Linked DNA regions of Homo sapiens: all the other regions are linked to region 1. Evidence: promoter capture Hi-C in 16 types of primary human blood cells and fetal thymus (Javierre and others, 2016). All regions are on one chromosome and are shown on one strand. Each heading gives the region's core, a stretch centred on a gene start or on the middle of the fragment in contact. The rest is flanking DNA. Distances are from core to core; before and after follow the strand shown. Region 1 holds the start of TPRG1L (tumor protein p63 regulated 1 like). Region 2 has its middle 5.4 kb from the start of ARHGEF16. Region 3 overlaps ARHGEF16 (Rho guanine nucleotide exchange factor 16).

What was found. The method cuts DNA at HindIII sites, captures the fragments that hold promoters and counts their contacts. A CHiCAGO score of 5 or more calls a contact.
Region 2: a fragment that was not itself captured here is called in contact with the fragment with the promoter of TPRG1L in region 1 in 15 of 17 cell types (naive CD8 T cells, total CD8 T cells, naive CD4 T cells and 12 more); the score reaches 10.3 in naive CD8 T cells.
Region 3: a fragment that was not itself captured here is called in contact with the fragment with the promoter of TPRG1L in region 1 in 1 of 17 cell types (total CD4 T cells); the score reaches 5.9 in total CD4 T cells.

Annotation. Positions count from the first base shown.
Region 1 is chr1:3,621,917-3,626,880 of GRCh38, forward strand. TPRG1L (tumor protein p63 regulated 1 like) reads left to right here and starts at 3,099. Exons shown (of 5, transcript NM_182752.4): 1 at 3,099-3,357; 2 at 3,508-3,599; 3 at 3,797-3,973. The coding sequence starts at 3,157. It also overlaps a transcript of MEGF6 not described here. RefSeq lists enhancers at 2,373-2,492, 3,473-4,135 and a silencer at 2,943-3,172. The HindIII fragment of the contact is 13,719 bases long and covers 1-4,964 here.
Region 2 is chr1:3,446,831-3,451,794 of GRCh38, forward strand. No RefSeq gene overlaps it. Among named protein-coding and RNA genes, the nearest start is that of ARHGEF16, 5.4 kb to the right of the region's middle. The HindIII fragment of the contact is 5,295 bases long and covers 346-4,964 here.
Region 3 is chr1:3,468,895-3,472,960 of GRCh38, forward strand. It overlaps ARHGEF16 (Rho guanine nucleotide exchange factor 16), which reads left to right. Exons shown (of 15, transcript NM_014448.4): 5 at 1-42; 6 at 539-699. Among named protein-coding and RNA genes, the nearest start is that of ARHGEF16, 16 kb to the left of the region's middle. RefSeq lists an enhancer at 2,673-3,298. The HindIII fragment of the contact is 7,512 bases long and covers 1-4,066 here.

The sequences.
Region 1 (4,964 bases), core at 1,849-4,348:
TTCTCCCTTTTGGAATGGGACCATTTACCGAGTGCCAGTACCTCCATTATACCTTGGAAGTAACTAACTTGTTTTTGATTTTACAGGTTCATAGGCAGAAGGGACTTTGTCTCAGATGAGACTTTGGACTGTGGACTTTTGAGTTAATGCTGAAATAAGACTTTGGGGGACTGTTGGGAGGGCATGATTGGTTTTGAAATGTAAAAAGGACATGAGATTTAGGAGGGGCCGGGGTAGAATGATATGGTTTAGCTGTGTCCCCACCCAAATCTCATCTCGAATTGTAATCCCCACATGTCGAGGGAGGGACCTGGTGGGAGGTGATTGGAGCATGGGGGCGATTTCCCCCGTGCTGTTCTTGTCATAGTTCTCACAAGATCTGATGGTTTAAGTGTGGCACATCCCACTACCCCCGCCGCCATGTAAGACGTGCCTTGCTTCCCCTTTGCCTTCCGCCATGATTGTAAGTTTCCTAAGGTCTCCCCAGTCATGTGTAACTGTGAGTCAATGAAACCTCTTTTCTTTATAAATTACCCAGCTTCAGGTAAGTTCTTCATATTAATAGCAGTGGGAAAACAAACAAACACAGTGACCTTATTTGATCAAACATGATGATGATCGACTAAAGATGAGGTCACTAGGGTGGTCCCTAATCCAACAGGGATGTTGCAGAAGAGACCCACCTGGAGAAGGTCGTGTGAAGATGGAGGCAGGGATGGGAGCAGTGCATGAGCAAGCCCAGGACACCAAGCAGGCCTGGCAGAGCAAGACATGCGTCAACCCTCAGGGCTGCAGAGGGAGCATGGCCCTGCACACTCCTTGATTTTGCACTTCTGGCCTCCAGGGCTATGAGGAAACACGTTTCTGTTGTTTTTAAAACAGTTGTTGTTTTTAAAACCAGTTTGTGATGCATTGTGACAGAAGCCCCAGGAAACTCATCCATACTGAGTGAAATTTGTTTATTGTCTAAAATACAGTCCCTCCATCATCTATCCCTCCTATCATTTCTGGAATTTATAGACATCCAAGTCACTCCCCATATCCACAGAAGGCTCAGGCACCTGGTTCAGAATCCTCATTGTCCTGCCAGCTCCCACCAGCAGTCTGCAGCCTCGGCCCCAGCCAGTGTCACTTCATCCCATTCCCTGGACATCTGGTTCCAGGACCACAGCTCCATCCTTGGCGTGGTCCAGAACTTGCTCCTACCTCTCTCCCCCATTCTCCCTCTTTCTCCCCCCCATTCTCTCTCCCTCTCTTTCTCATTCTCCCTTCTCCTCCCTCTTTCTCCCTCCCTCTCTCTGGAATCTCTGGTTCCAGTTGCCCATCACTGACTACAGCTTGCAGCTGTCCAGGTATTTCTCATCTACATCCACTCAGCTCCCTCCCGGCCTCTGTTCTTCCTCCCTCAGGGGTATTCTCCCACTCACCAGCACCTGTTGGATCCGCGGCCATTTCTAACCGGACTGGATACTTGGACCTCAAGGTCCCCGCTGGTAAGATAGCTGGGAGACACTCGTCTGTAGGTCCCTCTGGCAGGTCTTGCTGGGCGTGCCAAGAACACATTGCCCTGACCACTCTTTTCTGGGCCATTTCTCACGCCTGTGCTTGCAGTGGGCACCCTTGCCGGGGAGACAGCCTCCCTGTGGGACAAAGACCACATTGGTCCACAGGATCCAGGGTCCTGTTTTGTAGTGCACCCGCTGTGGTGCAACATGCGTCTGGGCACACCAGCGTCGCCCGTTTCCTGTTGTAGTCTTTCCTCTCTGACTCCAGGGGTATTGGGTCTTTCTGCCAGCGCCCATGCAACTTTGGCAGCCTGGCCTGTCTGCTGGCAAGTGGGGCAGAATCCCTGCACTCCACCATTCTTGGGCAACACTCCCTCTAGGATTTTGGCCTCCCTTTTCTCTCTGGTCTTTGACCACCGCTACCCAGCAAACTCCTCCATCTAGACCAGCCAGCATTGGTTTCTTCCACTCCCCCAGCTGCCGCGTGGGAGGCGCCACTGCAAACTTCCCTGGGGTCTCCCAGCTGCTCAGAGATCCCCATGCCCTTCCCTGATCAGCTCCCTGCCCGGTTCTCATCCCGGCGATTCTAAACCGTCCATCTTTACAAATACTCCGCTCCATCCCCACTCCCTGACTGAAGTAAACAGATGTATCCTGAACTCCTCATTCTCCCCCCATCTCACTCTCCTCGCCTGTGTGCACCTCGCCTCGTGTGTCTTCCTCACCTCCGAGCAGAGGGATCTGTCCTCCTGCCCGAAGGTAACCCTGACCCCTGGACTCTGCGCCTCCTTCCCGCAGCCTCCACCAGATTGCGGGTCCGTTCACCGCCCCCCTCCACACGCGCTGGGGGCACCTCCGGGAGCTGGGGCTAGCGCAGGGCACACACATGTTCCACCTCGAACTGCGAGCGCTGACCGGGATCTCTGGGCAGCCCTCTCTGTGTGCACTGGCTTGCTGAAGGCTCGCGACAGCCTGGGCCCGGGCGCGCATTCCAGCACTTTCTACCCTCCGGCTTCAGAGTGCATTGCTCTGTGGATCCGTCACGAATAAGCCGTGTGTGAAGAACGCCAGGTCCCGGCAGAAGATCGCTGCCCGGCGTGCGAACTCCCCCACGGTGCACCAGGGCCGCCGCCCTGCATCCTCCAACCTCAGCTCCCCGGCACCGCGACCCTCCGTGCAGTGCGAGCCCCCGATGGGCGCGCGCCCCCACCTGCGCTCCAGAAGGCCGAAGGGGGCATCCCACTTGCAGGGCGGGTCACCCGCTTTCCCCGCGGGCCAAGGGGCTCCAAGATTCCCAGCCCCTCCTTCCCAGCCGCTCCGCGACACCCTGGCAACCGGCTTCGGCCCCGCCCCTTCTCGTTGTGTAAACAGGAAGTGAGCCTGCGCGTGACGGTCGCTTCCGGCCCGGCGAGGGGCGGGAGCGATTGTGAACGGCGGCGGGGCAGAGCCAATCGCGGAAAACGGCAGGAGGAGAGCCAATCCCGAGGGTCGGCGGACGCGGGAAGGGGCGGAGCCAGAGGCGGGGCCGGCAAGGCGGAGCCAATCGCGGCGGTCCGCGGGGCGGGGCCGGGGGCGCGGCCGGGTGGTGGCGGTGGCTGCGGCGACGGCGGTCGCGTCGGCGTCAGGGTCGGGGTCGGTAAGGGGTGCGGCAATGCTGCAACTGCGGGACTCGGTGGACTCGGCCGGTACGAGCCCCACGGCGGTGCTGGCGGCCGGCGAGGAGGTGGGGGCAGGCGGCGGCCCGGGCGGGGGGCGGCCGGGGGCGGGGACGCCGCTGCGCCAGACACTCTGGCCTCTCAGCATCCACGACCCCACGCGCCGCGCCCGCGTCAAGGAGTACTTCGTGTTCCGGGTGAGGCAGGGGCCAGGGCCGGGGCGGGGGCCGAGGGCGCGGGGCGGGATGGGGGCGGGTGGGGTCGGAGGCGGGCGCCGGGCGGTCCCGCAGGGAGCGAGCTGTGACCTGTGATCTTTGCCCCCGTCCCCCACCCCGCAACCCGCCCAGCCCGGCAGCATCGAGCAGGCAGTGGAGGAGATCCGCGTGGTGGTGCGGCCCGTGGAGGACGGCGAGATCCAGGGAGTGTGGCTGCTTACCGAGTAAGCCGGGGCTGCGCTCTCCTTGGTGGGGGGACTCGCCCCGAGCCGCCGCGCAGCACCTTGCGAGGACTTCCCGGGGTGCTCGTGCCACGCTCAGGCGCCCCGTGCCGCCCCTGCTGCCCTTCCAGGCGGGCTGGCCTTGGCTAAGTCGAGACAGCCGCGTCCAGTGTGGACTGAGGCCCCTCCTCTGCCTACAGGGTGGATCACTGGAACAATGAGAAGGAGCGGCTGGTGCTGGTCACGGAGCAGTCCCTGCTTATCTGTAAATACGACTTCATCAGTCTCCAGTGCCAGCAGGTGGTGCGGATAGCGCTCAACGCAGTAGACACCATTTCCTACGGAGAATTCCAGTTTCCCCCTAAATCGCTCAACAAGTAAGCCTGTTCAGAGTCCAGTATCACTGGACCTAAGCACCAGAGTGGACCTTACAATTCAGCCCTTTTAAATCAGCCCCCCAAGCGGTGTGTCTTCTCTGTCATTAATTATAAGCACAAAGGCTCCAGCTCCAAATATCAATGGGAAGTTCCTTAAAAAGAAGCGACTTCTGGGCAATTGAGTGCATTAAAAGGAATTCTGGCACAGAAGGCAGCTATTAGGCTGGTAGTAAAAAGACTTACATGAGTTCAGGATGCATTGAAGTAGAGCCCAGCGTGTTAAAAAGGAACTTGGATGTTCTTCAGGAAAAGTCCAAACTCTGCATTTTTCTCCAGCCAGGGACAGATTGCATATGACACATCAAGTCTTGCTCTGGCTAATTTTTTAAAGAGAAATGGAGGGTCCCGTTGTAATTTATAGATACCACTAAAAGACAAATTTGGAAATATTTAATGACCAGCTTTCAGGAGTTGATCTTTTTGCTGTAGGATAATTTTCTGACGTGAGGAACCTAAACATTACTACAGTCAGTTAAGCTGTAGAACTTGGGTTTTTGATGGAGAGATTTGGATGGGGGATTCAGGAAGCTAAAATAAAAATTTTACCTTTTGGTTAAAACATTTAATATGACATAAGGAAAAGGAAGATTACACTTCCTTTTCACTCATTTGGCTAGCCTATCTATAATTATTCCCTTTTTTTTTTTTTTTTGAGACGGAGTCCCACTCTGTCACCCAGGCACCAGTGGTGCAGTCTTGGTTCACTGCATCCTCCACCTCCTAGGCTTAAGTGATCCTCTCACCTCAGCCTCCCAAGTAGCTAGGACTACAGGTGCCCGCCACCACACCCAGCTAATTTTTGTATTTTTTGTAGAGATGGGGTTTTGCTAGGTTGCCCAGGCTGTTCTCAAACTCCTGGGCTCAAGAGATCCGCCCATTTTGGCCTCCCAAAGCGCTGGGATTATAGATGTCAGCCACCGTGCCCAGCCAG
Region 2 (4,964 bases), core at 1,743-4,242, 180 kb before region 1:
TTGTTCTTATGCTAGTTTTGATGATTTGTGTCTTTTAAGGAACACGGCCATTCCATCTAAGTGATTGAATATATTGGCAAAAGTTTACTCAGAATATTTTCTTATCATTTTAACATCTGCAAGATCAGTAGTGGTGGCCCTCTTTCTCTCCTGATATTGGTAATTTGAGCCTTATCTCTTTCTTTTCTAACCTCGTATTATCAATTGTATTGATCTTTTCAAAGATAACCTTTTATTTTATTGAGTTTCTCTATTATTGTCTATGGTACTGATTTCCATTGATTTCTTATTTTTAAATTTACTTTGGTTTTAATTTGCACTAATTTTTTTTCACTTAAAGATGGAAGCTTAGATCAACTTTCAACATGTCTTCTTTTCTAACAAGCATTCAAAGTCATCAGTTTCCCACTAAGCACGTTAAGGGCAGTCCATACATTTTCATATTACGTATTTTCATTATAATTCAGTTAAAATATTTTCTAATTTCTCTCCTGCAATTCCTTCTTTGACCTTCAGATTACTTAAAAGTGCATTGTTTAATTTCCAAATATTTAAGAATTTTTCAGATATCATTTTGTGATTGGTTTCTAATTTAATTGTGTTGTCAGAAAACACACTCTGTGGGATTTCAGTCATTTTAAATGTATGCAGGCATGTTTTATGGCCTAATACGTGGTCTGTCTTGGTGTATATTTCATGTGTACTTGAAAAGAATATGAATTCTGGAGTTGTTGGGCACAGCGCTCTATAAATGTCAATTAGGTCAAGTTGGTTGATAGGGTTGGTCAAGTGTTTTATACCCTTGGTGATTTTGCTATCTAGTGTCCTATCAGTTGTTGAGAGCAAGTGTTGAAACTTTCAACTATACCTGTGGGTCTGGTTTCCTTTCAGCCTGGTCAGTGGTCATCTGCTCGTGTGTATTTTGAAACTGTTATTATGTGGATATGCACTTAGGACTGTCTTCTTGACCAACTGAATCCTTTATTATTACAAACTGTCCCTTTTCCCCATGGCAATATTCTTATTCTGAAATCCGCTTTTGTCTAATATCAGCATTGCCATGCATGCTTTCTTGTGACTAATAGTTGCATGCGTATCTCTTACTTTCCTTTTACTCTCATCCTATCTGTGTCTTTATATTTGAATCACCCTATCTAATAAGCATCATGTCACTGGGTCTTGCTTTTTATCCAGTCTGACAATCTCTATCTTTTAATTGGGGTGTTTAATCCATTCACATTTAATATAATTATTGGTATGGTTAGATATAGGCTACCATCTTGATATTTGTTTTCTATTTGTCAGATCTGGTTTTCGTCTTTTTTTCTGTTCCTCTGCCCTCTTTTGGATGAGTATTTTCTAGGATTCAATTCTCTCTTCTCCCTGGACTTATTAGCTGTAGCTCCTCACCTTAATTTTTAGTGTCTGATCTAGAGTTTTCAGTATTTATCTTCATCATTGTCTATCTTTAAGTGATATTATACTCACTGTAAAATATACAAACTTTACTCTGGTATATTTCTATTCTCTCCTCCTGCATTTTGAACTTTTACTGTAATATATTTCACTTTTACATATAAATTTGATAATACACTGTCGTTATTTTCACATTAGTCTCTGATCTTTTAAAGAACTGTTTTGGGCCGGGTGCAGTGGCTCACACCTGTAATCCCAGCCCTTTGGGAGGCCAAGGCGGGCAGATCACAAGGTCAAGAGTTCAAGACCAGCCTGGCCAAAATGGTGAAACCCCATCTCTACTAAAAAGATACAAAAATTAGCCAGGCATGGTGGTGTGTGCTTGTAGTCCCAGCTACTGGGGAGGCTGAGGCAGGAGGATCACTTGAACCCAAGAAGTGGAGGTTGCAGTGAGCTGAGATCGTGCCACTACACTCCAGTCTGGGCGACAGAGTGAGACTCCATTTAAAAAAAAAAAAAAAAAAGGAATGTTTTGAAGCACAGAAAAAAAGCCTCTCACATTTATTGACATATTTGCCATTTCCAGTGGGTTTCTACTCCTTGTGCAGACCTGAATTTATATCTGGTATCATTTTCCTTTCGCCTGAAAAAATTCCTGTGACATTTCTTATAGTGTGGGTCTACTGGTGATGAATTTTCTCAGCGTTTGCCTTAACATGTCTTTATTTTCCTTTCATTTTTGAAGGATATTTTCAAGAGAAATGGACATCTTGGTTGACAGTTTTGTTTTCTTTCAGCACTTTAAAGATGTTGTTGTAGTTCTCTCAGCTTTCAGTGTTTCTGATGACAAGCCAGCAGTTATTTTGGTCTTTATTCCCTTACGATTTTTCCCTCTGTCACTGGTTTTCAGCCATTTCATTATGAGGTACCTTGGTGTGGTCTGCTTTGTACGTATGCTGCCTTGACATCTTTGTACTTATTCTACTTCATTTTAAGGTCCTTGATTCTGTGGATCTATGAGTTTTTATTACATCTGAAAAATTTTCAGCCATTCTTCCTTTTTTTTTTTTTTTAATAAGACAGAGTCTTGGTCTGTCACCCAGGCTGGAGTACAGTGGTTCAATCACAGCTCACTGGAGCCTCGACCTCCCTGGGCTCAAGCAATCCTCCCACCTCAGCCTCCCAAGTAGCTGGGACTATAGGCATGCACCACCATGCCTGGCTAATTTTTGTACTTTTAGTAGAGACAGGGTTTCACCATGTTGCCCAGGCTTGTCTCGAACTTCTGGCCTCAAGTGATCCGCCCGCCTCAGTCATGCAAAGTTCTGGGATTACAGGCGTGAGCCACTGTACCCAGCCATTGCTTTAAACATATGTTCTTCCCTCCCCACTCCCTCCTTTCTGGTCCTCCAGTTACACATATTGTTAGACTGCCTGATGCCTGATACCGTCTCAAGGTGGGCAAGGCTCGGTTTCTGCCTTTTCCCTAGGTTTTTCCTCTGCGTGCTTCAGTCTGAGTAACTTGTCCTGGCTTCAAGTTTACTGATTGTTTTCCTCTGTAGTTTCATCTGCTGTTAATCTCATCCAATAGATTTTTTGTTTCCTACACTGTATATTTTCATCTTTAGGATTTCCATTTGATTCATTATTATACTTTCCATCTCTCCTTTGACTGTGATCATCGTTTCCTATAAATCCTTGGGTGGTGTGTGTGTATATATTATATATATGTGTGTGTGTGTATATGTGTGTCCGTGTGTGTCCGCGTGTGTGTGTGTGTGTGTGTGTGTGTATAGAGAGAGAGAGACAGGGTCTGGCTCTGTTGCCCAGGCTGGAGGGCAGTGGTGCGAGCTCAGCTCACTGCAGCCTCCAAATCCTGGGCTCAAGTGATCCTCCCACCCCAGTCTCCTGAGTAGCTCACCTAGCTAATTTTTTGTATTTTTTGTAGAGATGGGGTTTCACCACGTTGCCCAGGCTGGTCTTGAACTCCTGGACTCAAGCAACTCACCATCTCAGCCTTCCCAAGTGCTGGGATTACAGGCATGCGGCACCATGCCCAGCTGATCCTTTGGGGTATTTTTGATTGTTGTTTTAAATGCCTTCTCTGCGAATCCTGTCATCCGTGTCATTTCTGGGTCTGCTTCTACTGACTGATTTTTTTCCTAGTTATTTGTCACAGGTTCCTGTTCCTGCTTCTTCACATGTCTAGTAATTTTGCATTGGGTGCTGGAGGTCGTAAATGTGTAATTTTGCATTGGGTGCTGGAGGTCGTAAATGTGTAATTTTGCATTGGGTGCTGGAGGTCGTAAATGTGTAATTTTGCATTGGGTGCTGGAGGTTGTAAATGTGTAATTTTGCATTGGGTGCTGGAGGTCGTAAATGTCAAATTGTTTGAGTTTCTGGATTTTACTGGCCTTCTTTTCAAGCATGTTGAGTGTTATGCTGATGCACAGTTAACGTACTTGTGGATCAGCCTGGTCCTCTCAGGACTTGCTTTGAACTTCTGTTAGGTCATGTCTAGAGGAGCTGTCACCCTAGGATTACTTCAGCCCTTCACCTAGGACATGGCCTTCTTTGGTATCTACTGAATATTCTGGGTGGTCAGGATTTTTTCCCTCTGTCCCTGGTTTTCAGCCATTTCATTATGAGGTACTGTGGTGGGGTCTGCTTTGTACGTATGCTGCTTTGACTTCTTTGGACTTATTCTCCATTGCTTTGAGGTTCTTGGATCTGTGGATCTACAAGTTTTTATCACATTTGGAAATTTTTCAGACATTCTTTTTTTGAGACAGAGTCTTGGTACAGTGGCTGGAGTACACTGGCTCGATCATAGCTCACTGGAGACTCGTCCTCCCCAGGCTCAAGCGATCCTCCCACCTCAGACTCCCAAGCGGCTGAGGTCAACGAGGGATAGTCAGCGACGGTGCTTCCTTCCTGGTGGCTGACGTTCCAGCGTCCCCTGGCCTGGTATGAACTCTGGTGTCACTCTGCTCACAGAGCTCCCTGGTCGCTGTTGGTCCCTGGCTTCATGGGATCTTACTCTGCTTATGCACAGTTCAGTATTCAGCCAAAGGCTCAAGTGGACCCCTGTGGGGATTTTGGGGGCTCCACTACGTCGCTGCCTTCTCTCCAGGACTCTTTCGGGGCTCCCCTGCACTGCTGCCTTCTCTCCAGGACTCTCTCCATAGTCCTTGGCCTCCTTGGCTCCCCAACTCTGTCCCCTGTAGCCCAGTGAGGCCACCAGCCTCTCTTGGCCAAAGGCTTATTTACCTCTTTCTCCAGGAATTTCTGTCTCTGCACCTGTTGTCCAGTGTTAGAAAGAGTTGTTTCTCGTATTTTTTGTTCCATGTTTGAGTTGTTTGTGGTGACAGACAAGTCTGGTACCGACTACTTCGTCATGGCCAAAACACCTGACATGTTTTAAATTCTCAATTTGGGGAAGATACATGGGGTTGCTTTTATATATTTTTATATAAAAATATAAATACTATATGCATGTCTTTGTAAACCAGAAATGGTCCCTAATGATGACTAGGGATCCTGGGCTT
Region 3 (4,066 bases), core at 422-2,921, 150 kb before region 1:
ATCCTGGACCAGCTCTCCACTGAGGAGCGGAAAAGGCAGGAGGTAAAAGGGCCCTGGGCGGGAGGGCTGTCCCCCATGGCCTGGGCCATGCAACACCCGGGGAGGGGCAGCAGCCACGGTGGCACCACCCAGCCATCCCTCTGCGGCCACCTCCAGTGCCAGGCCCTGTCACGCTGACCAGCGCCTCACACAGCCCCGGGCTGTGCTTCCACCTGCGCCAGGCCCTGACGGAGCCCCTTCACGTCACCGGGTGAATCCTCGGAGTCCAGGGGCTGCCATCACCCCCTTCTCTGACAAGGACGGGGGTCGTTGCCCAGCTTCAGCCGGCTCATAAGGCACCCAGCCAGGGGCATCCAGGGACGTCGGGCTGGCATCTCCAAGCTGGCCATTCTGACAGCCCCATCCAGGGGTGTGTCTGGGGTTCCTGTCCCCACCTGCCCCTGCCACCCGGGTCACGTCCTCCTGTTCCAAGCATTGGTCACCGAGGCACGCCCGTGTCCAGCGTCACTGTGGGGCTCACCTAGGCCCCTCTCCACAGGCCATGTTCGAGATCCTCACGTCGGAGTTCTCCTACCAGCACAGCCTGAGCATCCTGGTGGAGGAGTTCCTGCAGTCCAAGGAGCTGCGGGCGACCGTGACCCAGATGGAGCACCACCACCTCTTCTCCAACATCCTGGATGTCCTGGGTGCCAGTCAGAGGTGAGGCCACGCCACAGCCTTCCACACAGGGTCCTCTGCCAGGAAGGTGCCTCCCCCCGTGGGCACCGCACTGTCATCAGCAGGCCCCTGGGAGCCTGCGCTGCACCTTGATGTGGATGGTTTAGAGCAGCTGCTGGCTCCCGCGGAGTGTGATGACCTCTGAGGGTCCTTGAGGCCACCAAGAGCTGGCCCCAGGGCCGGGCTAAGCACTGGGGCTGTGGCATCCTGGTCGTTCTTAAGACGTGGAGCACTTCCCAGGGGTACAACCCTGCCCCACTGCCAAGCACCACCCCACCAGGACGTCCAGGCACAGAGGGCTGCATGATCCAGGCAGTGGTGGCCACAAGCTGCTCACCTGTAGGCAGGAAGCCTCGAGTTGCAGCTCTGGGTCATGTTCCACCCAAAGGTGTCTGGTGGCTGGACCTGAGCTCTGGTTGCAGGGCCTGGAGGTAGAGAGGCTGGACATGCAGCTGCAGCCATGCACGGGGGTATGTGCGTGGGGTGGGGTGGGGTGTGTGTGCGTGGGTGTGTGTGTGGGGTGGGGTGTCTGTGCATGGCTGTGTGTGCATGGTCAGTGGTGTGTGTGAGTGGGCTGGCCCCGAGGCCTGGAGGGTGGCTCGGGAGCATCCAGCACCCTGGTGTGTATGCATGGGTGTGTGGGGGCAGGGGTGTGTATGCATGGGCAAGGGTGTGTATGCATGGGCAGGGGTGTCTGCACGGGTGTGTCTGCACGGGTGTGTGTGGACAGGGTTGTGTGTGCGTGGGCAGGTATGTGTGTGTGTAGGTGTGCATGGGTTTGTGTGCCTGGGCAGCAGTGTGTGTGCATGGGTGTGGGGCAGGGGTGTGTATGCATGGTTGTGTGTGCGCGGGTGTGTGCATGGATGTGTGTGCATGGACGGGTGTGTGCACAGGCAGGGATGTGTGTGCGTGGGCAGGGGTGTGTATGCGTGGTCAGGGTTATGTGTGAGTGGGTAGGGGTGTGTGTGAGTGGCTGTGTTTTCGGTCAGGTGTGTGTGAGTGGGTGTGTGTGCGTGGGCAGGGATGTCTGTGTATCTGCGTGGTCAGGGATGTATGTGAGTAGGTGTGTGTGCGTGGGCAAGGGTGTCTGTGCATGGCTGTGTGTGCGTGGTCAGGGGTGTGTGTGAGTGGGCTGGCCCCAAGGCCCGGAGGGTGGCTCGGGAGCATCCGGCACCCTGGTGTGTATGCATGGGTGTATGTGCATGGATGTGTGTGTGGGCAGGGGTGTGTGTGCGTGGACAGGTGTGTGTGCGTGGGCAGGGGTGTATGTGCGTGGGTGTGTGTGCCTGGCCAGGGGTATGTGTGTGGGCAGGGGTGTGTGTGCATGGGCAGGGGTGTGCGTGGGTGTGTGTGCCTGGCCAGGGGTGTGTGTGCGTGGGCAGGGGTGTGCGTGGGTGTGTGTACCTGGCCAGGGGTGTGTGTGCGTGGGCAGGGATGTGTGTGTGCATGGACAGGTATGTGTGCATGGGCAGGGGTGTGTGTGCGTGGGTGTGTGTGCCTGGGCAGGGGTGTGTGTGCGTGGGTGTGTGTGCCTGGGCAGGGGTATGTGTGGTCTCGACCCTGTGCTGCTCCCTATATGCAGGAGGACCCCGGAGCATCGAGTCTCCTGAGCCTCAGCCTCAATGCTAACCTGAGGGGCGGTGCCTCTGGTCCCCTCGTGGGCTTGGGTGGCGCTGGGAGATGATTAGGGGCCTGTAGTGCCTGGCACAGGGCTGCCCCAACAGTGGTGGTTGCTGGCGCATTCTTATATCAGCCCCGCCCCTGGCGAGTCCCACCCATCTGCTGCCTGTGGGGTGCCCTTGCGGAACTTTGGGGCCCTGAGGGTGGGCAGGGAGCCGCCTTGTCCCTGGAGACAGGGGCTTCCTGTAGAGCTCCAGGGACCAGCTATGGGAAACTCCCAACCTCTGACTCAGCATGGGATGGGGCTGGGGGAGGGGGAGGGGTCTGGGATAGCGGCTGCCCCTCCCCCAGCTCTGCCCCCAGCCAGGCAGGCTTTGTGTTCTCTGAGCTCTGTGTCCTCCGGTCCCCTCTGCCTCAGGCAGCTGCATGTTTGCCTCTGACCTCCTCAGGGCTTTAGATTGCTGCCCTGGGGCGGGAAGCTCCGGCCTCCTCCCCCAGCTGGGCCCCCGACAGCTCCTGGCATTCACAGTGAACTGTCTGGGGAATCATCGCTATTTGGGGTAAGCGGCTGGTGGGCGGCTCTCCCAGACCTTTCTCAGAACCTGCAGTCACCCATATGAGCTGCTGACCGGCCTGGCCGGCCTGGGCACGTACGCATGTCGTGGCCCTGCTCATCCAGCAACCGAGGCCTCCCATGACCTGCTGGGTCCTCGTCCACGGGGACTGCAGCTCCATCTGCTGGGGATTCTCAAGGGCAAGCAGCTGTCAGGACACTCTCCCTGCAGGAAGCGTGGCTCCTGCGTGGGTGGCAGGCCCAGTCGGGCCCCGTGAGCAGAGGAGGAGGGACTCCCGCCCACCTCCACGCTGGGTAAGGGAGTCCTCCGAAGGACAGAGCTCTTGGGCTGGGAGGACCTCCTGTGGCGGCGGCCTGGAGACACGGATGTGGTCTCGGGTTGGGTGCTCTGAGGGTCTGCAGGATGGACGAGGCTCCAGCCACCGCCTCACACAGCAGGTGACCATCGTGGGTCCAGCCAAGCCCAGCCTTGGTGGCCGTGGCCGCCCATGGGGGCAGAATCCTGGCAGCCCTGGCCTAGCTCTGACCAAGTGTTAACTCCCTTCATCCTGATCACCCTGGACCAAGGCCTGGGTCATGGGGAGGTGAGGGGCTGGTAGCCCCTTCCAGGGAGTCTGCCAAGAGCCCACAGCTGGCCCCCCCCCGGCCTTGACTGTTCCCTCAGAACGGGGTGGGGGACCTAGTGAAAGTAAACAGTTCATGAACCCAGCTGGGAGCTTGACCAGCAGAGCTGCCTCGGATTTGGGACTCATCCTTGGAAGGGGTGGCCCCAGGCATCGCCCCTCTTTGCTCTTGTGCCTGTCCCCTGAGTCTCCGTCCTTGAGTTTCTTCCCAGGGGCAAGCTGGTGCGGCAGCGGGGGCCCGGGCCTGTGTGGAGGCCCAGTCGTTTTAGCTGGAAGGAGCTTGAAGGGCGAAGGGCACCAACTGGACAGGGCACCAGGACAGGAGGTCCAAATGGGCCCGCCTTTGGGGACAGTCCCTGGGGCTGCCCCTGGACAACAGAGGGACGGCACCAGTGCGTGGGATCGTGGCAGGGGGCTCTGTAAGGAGCCCCAGGCCTCTGACCACTTCCCACCCGCCCTCCCTGCTGTCCAGCATCCCAGGTCCGGGTCCCGCCCCAAGTGCTTGCTGTGTGCTGCCTCTGGGAGCTGAGCT